2 separate regions of the Homo sapiens genome follow, and region 1 is linked to region 2. Evidence: promoter capture Hi-C in human tissues and cell types (Jung and others, 2019). All regions are on one chromosome and are shown on one strand. The core of a region is centred on a gene start or on the middle of the fragment in contact, and the rest is flanking DNA. Distances in the headings are between cores, read along the strand shown. Region 1 overlaps ASNS (asparagine synthetase (glutamine-hydrolyzing)). Region 2 holds the start of BHLHA15 (basic helix-loop-helix family member a15).

Region 1 (3,352 bases), core at 517-3,016, 350 kb after region 2:
CATCAGGGTTGCAGGATACAAGATGAATATACAAAAATCAATGGTATTTGACACACTTTAACTGAATACTACATACTTAAAATGAGCAATCAAAATGAAATTAAGAAAGCAACTTCATTTATAATAGCATCAAAAAGAATAAAATACTTAGAAATAAATTTAAGAAGTGTAAAACTTGTACTCTGAAAACTATAAAATGTTGTTGAAAGAAATGAGAGGAGATCTAAATAAATGGAAAAGTATCCCATGATCATGATTTGAAGGCTTAACATTGTTAAGATGGCAGTCCTCCCTAAACTGATTTACAGATTTAACTTGATCCCTATCAGAATCCCAGATGAGTTCTTTGTGAAATCTACAAGCTGACTCTCAAATTCATATGGAATTGCAAGAGACTAAGAATAGCCAAAACAATCTTTTGAAAATGAAGAACAAAGTAGGAGACCTCATATTAACTGATTTTAAAACTTACTACAAGACAATGGTAATAAGGACAATATAATACTGACAGAAGGATAGATGTATAGACTAGTGGGATAGAATTGAGAGTCAGAAATGAACCCATACATATATGATCAACTTATTTTTGACAAGGGTGCCAAGATTATTCAGTGGAGAAAGAAGTTTGAAAACTGGCACAGGGGCAACCAGATATGTAACCATATGCAAAACTTGGAGTTGAATCTTTACCCAACATCGTATACAAAAATTATGGATACAGAAAAATGGATCAGGCCAGGCGCGATGGCTTATGCCTGTAATCCCAGCACTTTGGGAGGCCGAGGCGGGTGGATCACGAGGTCAGGAGATCGAGACCATCCTGGCTAACACAGTGAAACCCCGTCTCTACTAAAAATTAGCCGGGCGTGGTGGCGGGCGCCTGTAGTCCCAGCTACTCAGGAGGCTGAGGCAGGAGAATGGCGTGAACCCGGGAGACGGAGCTTGCGGTAAGCCGAGATCGCGCAACTGCACTCCAGCCTGAGTGACAGAGCGAGACTCATCTCAAAAAAAAAAAAAAAAAGGATCAAATGAATCAGTTTTGAACTAATCCACTTAAATGTAAGGGCTAAAACTATAAAATCCCGAGAAGCAAACATAGAAGTAAATTGTCATGACCCTGGATTTGGCAAAGCTTTCTTAAATATGAGACCAGCAACAATAATAAAAATCAATGAATTGGACTTCATCAAAATTAAACATTTTTGCACATCAAAGGACACCATCAAGAAAGTGAAAAGACGGCCCACAAGTTGGAAGAAAATACTTGCAAATCATGCATAGCACTTTTTGATGGTAAACTTGAGGAAGACATTTATCTTTTATCCCTTACCTGTGCAGCAGTAACATCCTAATATCTCTCTCCCTGCCTCTTTTTGCCATTCTTTAAATTCTTTCTCACTTAATTTTCAGATTTAATATTGGCTGAAGCAGGGATAATGAGATCAATCAAAGGGGTCCTTAGGACACTAGTCACAGTGTTTGTACTAATACTGGAACTGGCTTATTTTCAGGCATTTCTAGTGTGATCAGATGGCAAAGAACAAGCATATATATATGTCAGTTGCCAGGACTGCTGGGAAAGCCTGGTAAAGAGAACACTGGGGAAAAGCAGCCTCCTGCTCCCCTGGGCCTTCTTTGAGCCTGATGATCACTTGATATGGAACTTACCCTCTGAAATTCCTTAATTGTTCTTTTCTATATCCTTGACACTGTCCTTTTCCAGACCAAATTATCTCATCTGGAATACTGCAACAATTTTCTTTTCTCAGTGCTTTTAGAATAACCTGTCAAAATCTCATCTGATTATAGTATTGCCTGCTTAAAACCTTTTAATTACTCCCCATTCCCTATCCGGGTTGTGTAGCTCACTTGAGCTCTGCTGGCTGGTGAGGGAATCTGGGTCCTTTTTCTGGTATTTGAATTCAGTGCTACACAGGTTACTGGCTGGGTAGACAATCTCAAATTGTAAATCACGAGTATTCCATGTAGATAGTCCATTACGATCTACAATAAAACATTGATGTTTGTATCAAAGATCATGGTGATGAGAGGTTGGGTACTGTACTGTCTGTGAGAATTTATTGAGGAAATTTAAGTTATATGGTTTTATTCACATATAGTGTATAACAACTAGTTAAGGGATAGATGTCTTCTTATCTGACTTTAAAGTAGGTAAAAGTGGATCATTGTACTTGTTAAAGGTCTGGGAACCATGGCTGTGTTCTGAAAATACCTCAGTGATGACAAATAAATGACTCCCAGCCTATCATAACATTAGGACTCCAGTTCATCCCTTTGCTTCATAAGTGTGTCTTTTCCTTTTGTGTATTTGCTTTAGTATAGAAAATAGGTTTTCTTGATTAGAAATCTAAGAAGAAGAAATTGAACACTGGAGATTTTTCTATTTCTTTGAATTACGAAAAGTTAGTGTAATTTGGCAGTATATCCCTGTGCCATTATTGTCTCTCAGGTAAGTAGATGGTAGGGCTTAGGAAAATAGAAAATTTTTTTTCCTATTTTGCTTATTTAATGGGTATGTGTTTGTATTAAAAAGGGAAAATAGGAATGTAGATGATGTTAACTAATCGTGAAAGTTATTGGGAAGGGTTACCTAATTTGAATAAAGGTATCATTGTGAATTTCTAGGTCTTGTTACATTGAAGCACTCCGCGACTCCCTTTTTAAAAGTGGAGCCTTTTCTTCCTGGACACTATGAAGTTTTGGATTTAAAGCCAAATGGCAAAGTTGCATCCGTGGAAATGGTTAAATATCATCACTGTCGGGATGTACCCCTGCACGCCCTCTATGACAATGTGGAGAAACTCTTTCCAGGTAGCAGACACCCACCCACCTATTCCCCATCCTTCTCCAAGGGAAAAAAATTTTAAGTTGTATTCTCCCATCATTTGAATGATTTTAGTTTCAAGACCTACTTCCTATTTTGTTTGGAGGGAACACATTAAGATTTGGCACACTCCACCATTGAGTAAATACCATCATGATAGATGTTGATGATTGTGTATTTCATTTCAATAACTAATCCAGCCCAAGATTTTCTGGAGCTGTTTGATTTACTGCTGTGTTTATAGGTTTTGAGATAGAAACTGTGAAGAACAACCTCAGGATCCTTTTTAATAATGCTGTAAAGAAACGTTTGATGACAGACAGAAGGATTGGCTGCCTTTTATCAGGTGAAGTCAATTAAAAAAACCTAATTATATTTCATGTGTGTTTAATTGAAATGATTTGTAGCCATCCCTTTGGTTTTTACTATAAAATATTTACTGTATGATTTACTCTTTCCTTCATTATAGGATGGAAATGATTTTTTATAAGCTGTATTTAATAGTCA
Region 2 (3,401 bases), core at 347-2,846:
GAAGTGGCTGAATGTTCGGGGGAAAATGGAACCGCTGAGGCCGTGTCCTTGTGGGGTGTCACCGCCCATCTGGGGCTCGTGGCTTGGAGGGACTGGGGCTGGGAGGAGCAGGCCAGGCAGCTGCGGCCACCGCCACCCCCACCCAGGACTGGGCGCTAGGTGCCCTCTCGGAAGCTGTGGATCTGCGTGGAGTACCTCTGCAGGTGGCCCTGGGGCTGGGCCTCCGTGGCCCCCAACGCACCCCCAGCCACCTGCTGCTGCTGCTGGTAGTGCTGGTAGAGCTTGGGGCCCGGCCCCTCCAGGCCTGGGAGGCGGCTGCTGGACATGGTCAGGATGGTGGCCGTCAGCGATTTGATGTAGTTCTTGGCCAGCGTGAGCGTCTCGATCTTGGAGAGCTTCTTGTCCGCGCGCACGTGGGGGATGACTTCACGCAGGGCCTGGAAGGCGTTATTTAGCTTGTGCATCCGCTGCCGCTCCCTCTCGTTGCTCTCCAGCCGCCGCTGGATGCTGCTGTCACGACGGCCACCGGGCCCGGAGGGTCCTGGCCGCCTGCGCCTGCCCTCGCCCGGAGCCCTTGCTGCGGCCCGGGCCGGCCGGCTCCGCAGACCCTTGGCCGGCTCTGGCCCCGGGTTCGGCAGGGACCCGTCGGGCGTCCCCTCCCCGGGGGTGGCCTCTGTGTCCTGCACCGGGGCCCGGCGCCGTGGGGGCCGGTTCTTGGTCTTCATGGCCCTGGACTGGCTGTCCTAGGAGGTGGCGGCAGGAAGGTGAGGCCCTTGGAGCTGAAATCCAGAACACAGGACACTCTGTGGTCACCCCACATGGGCAGGGGACCCGCTGGGGTGCCGTCCCTGGCAGCCTCCTCCTTGCTGACAGCAATGGTACCAGGGGCAGGGGTTGGCGCTCTGCGACTGGAGGTCCTTCTGTTCACACGCTTAGCCCTGGGCTGACCCCACACACACCCACGCCCTTGCTTTACCTCAAACAGACCTCTGGAATCTGTCCCTGTCCCTGCGTCCCCCTTCCCCCAGGATGACTCATCCTGACCCCTAGATCTTCCTCTGGCTCATGCCCCTCACTGCCCCCAGAGTGCCTCCTGAGCTCGGTGACCTTTGACACTTTGCCTAGAATGCGTCCCCCACCCTAGCTTAGGGGGCGCCTCTGCCGGAGGCGGCACTGACTTCATCCCGTGGGCGGGCAGTGACTCCAGCCACCAGGCTCTCACTGTCCTGCCCCGCTGGACGTGACACGTGCAGGGACAGCACTGGGGCCAGAACCGCTGCGGACATGGGACAGCACTGGGGCCAGAACCGCTGCGGACATGGGGCAGCCGTGGAGGTCAGAGGTCGGCAATGGCCAGGGCCTGGCGGCAGCCCCCAATCCCACCACGTGGATGGGCCCCGTGGAGCCTCCAGACAGACCAGAAGTCCCCCACCCGGGTTTCCCCACAGCCCCCACAACCCCCACAACCCCACCGCCAGGTCCTGCCCCTGGGTCCCCTCCCCGCGGCCCCACCCGAGTTCCCAGCTCCCGGGTTACCTGGGGATCCGCGGCCACACGCGCCGAGGCTGCCCACGGGGGACAAGGACACGTCGCTTTAGCCGCCCCGGGAGGGGCCGCGGACGCATGCAAATGAGCCCTCGGGGCGGGGCCGGGGCGGGGCCGGGGTCCGGGTGTCCCGGCGGGCGCTGGGCAGCAGTGGCGGCACCTGCGGGCGGGCGGGCGGGAGGCCGGCGCCTGGGGCTCCCGGACCAGGTGGCCGCGCAGCCCCGCCCCCAGCTTCCGCCCCGCCCCCAAGATAGAAAACCTCCCCCGCCCGCCTCTCCCCATCCTCCCCCTACTGCCCCCCACCCTCGTCCCCCAAGACAGCCACCCCCGCCCGCCTCTCCCCACCATCCCCCGACAGCCCCCGACCCTCGTTCCCCCAGACAGCCTCCCCCACACGCTTCTCCCCATCCTCCCCCGACAGCCCCCCAACCGCCCCGAGATAGCTTCCCCCCATTCGTCTCTCCCCATTCTCCCGCTACAGCCCCCCCAAGACAGCCTGCGTCCCCACCTCCCCTACTCCCGTCCCCCGACAGCCTCCCCACAACCTGCTTTTCCCCATCCTCCCCCTCAATTTCCACTCGCGCCTTTCCCACCCGCCTACCCCATATCCGTGCCCGAGACAGCCTCCCCCCGCCCGCTTTCCCCGACCCTCCCCCTGACACAGCACCCCCGCATCCATGCCTCCCGCGATCCTCCTTGCCCGGCCTCTCCACTCGTGGCGGGGCCCGGGCCCATTCCGCCAATGGGAAACAGGTCTCTGGGAGCCGCCGGAAGGAGGGGCAGCCCCGATTCAGGCTCAGCACACAGATCCCAAGTCCCAGGAGCACTCCGGGACGAGCCGCTCCGCGAAAACGCGGGCATCTCCCAGGGGATCCCCCGCCCCGCCGCCCGGGATGTTTAGGGGAACCTGGGGCTCCTACGGGCTGGGGGCGGAGCCCGAGTTGGGGTGGGGGTGGGGGGCTCCTTGGGCAGGTGTGCAGTCCTTGGGAACGCCTGTTTTGTTTGTTTGTTTGTTTTTGAGACGGAGTTTCGCTCTTGCTGCCCAGGCTGGCGTGCAATGGAGCGAGATGATCTCGGCTCACCGCAACCTCCGCCTCCCGGGTTCAAGCGATTCTCCTGCCTCAGCCTCCCGAGTAGCTGGGATTACAGGCATGCACCACCACGCCCAGCTAATTTTTGTATTTTTAGTAGAGACGGGGTTTCTCCACGTTGGCCAGGCTGGTCTTCAACTCCTGACCTCAAGTGATCCACCCGCCTCGGCATCCCAAAGTGCTGGGATTACATGCGTGAGCCACCACGCCCAGCCAAAGCAGCATCTTGCTCAGGGACTATTCGGGGCTGCTAGGGGTGCGGTGACTGCACGCTGCTGGGGGTGCGGTGAGTGTCACGCTGGCTGGCAGGCCTGGGCTCCACACTCATGGGTCTCGCCGCTCTGTCTCAGTACCTCTGGGTGGGAACTCAGAGGGGCCATAGTGGGGCGGGGGGCGGGCACAGAAAGGCTAGCTTGGAGCCAAGGTTAGTTAGTTCTTCTCTTGGCCTAAAGCTCATTTGAGGCTGGGCCAAATGAGGTCCTTGGAAATGAAAATGCTTCCGAAATTCATGAGTGCAAAGGCATGGTTTATAGACATGCTTCAAGGTGGCAGGAACACTAAACAGGTTTGGTTTTCCAGTGGTTATACAAAGCTTTATGTCCTCAGGAGTGCGGGGAGTTTAGGTCTGTCACACAAGCTCCAGAGGGACCAGGGCAGGGGCCTGGAACACAGGCTGCGGGCGCTCACAGCAGGGCAGGGCCAGGCCACCCACCCAGGTGGCCCTTGCACGGTGGACAAAACACAGAAGAAACGCGGCCAACAGAG

The links. Contacts are between HindIII fragments. The study calls those that stand out against the background at their distance.
Region 1: a contact is called between a fragment that was not itself captured here and the fragment with the promoter of BHLHA15 in region 2, in 1 of the 25 tissues and cell types used here (mesendoderm cells).

Annotation. Positions count from the first base shown.
Region 1 is chr7:97,858,693-97,862,044 of GRCh38, reverse strand. It overlaps ASNS (asparagine synthetase (glutamine-hydrolyzing)), which reads left to right. Exons shown (of 13, transcript NM_001673.5): 5 at 2,647-2,832; 6 at 3,090-3,191. CZ1P-ASNS (CZ1P-ASNS readthrough) reads left to right here. Exons shown (of 19, transcript NR_147989.1): 11 at 2,647-2,832; 12 at 3,090-3,191. Among named protein-coding and RNA genes, the nearest start is that of ASNS, 12 kb to the left of the region's middle. The HindIII fragment of the contact is 7,001 bases long and covers 1-3,352 here.
Region 2 is chr7:98,209,634-98,213,034 of GRCh38, reverse strand. BHLHA15 (basic helix-loop-helix family member a15) reads right to left here and starts at 1,596. Exons shown (of 2, transcript NM_177455.4): 1 at 1,537-1,596; 2 at 1-779. The coding sequence starts at 725. The coding sequence ends at 156. LMTK2 (lemur tyrosine kinase 2) reads right to left here. Exons shown (of 14, transcript NM_014916.4): 14 at 3,397-3,401. RefSeq lists a silencer at 1,535-1,724. The HindIII fragment of the contact is 24,836 bases long and covers 1-3,401 here.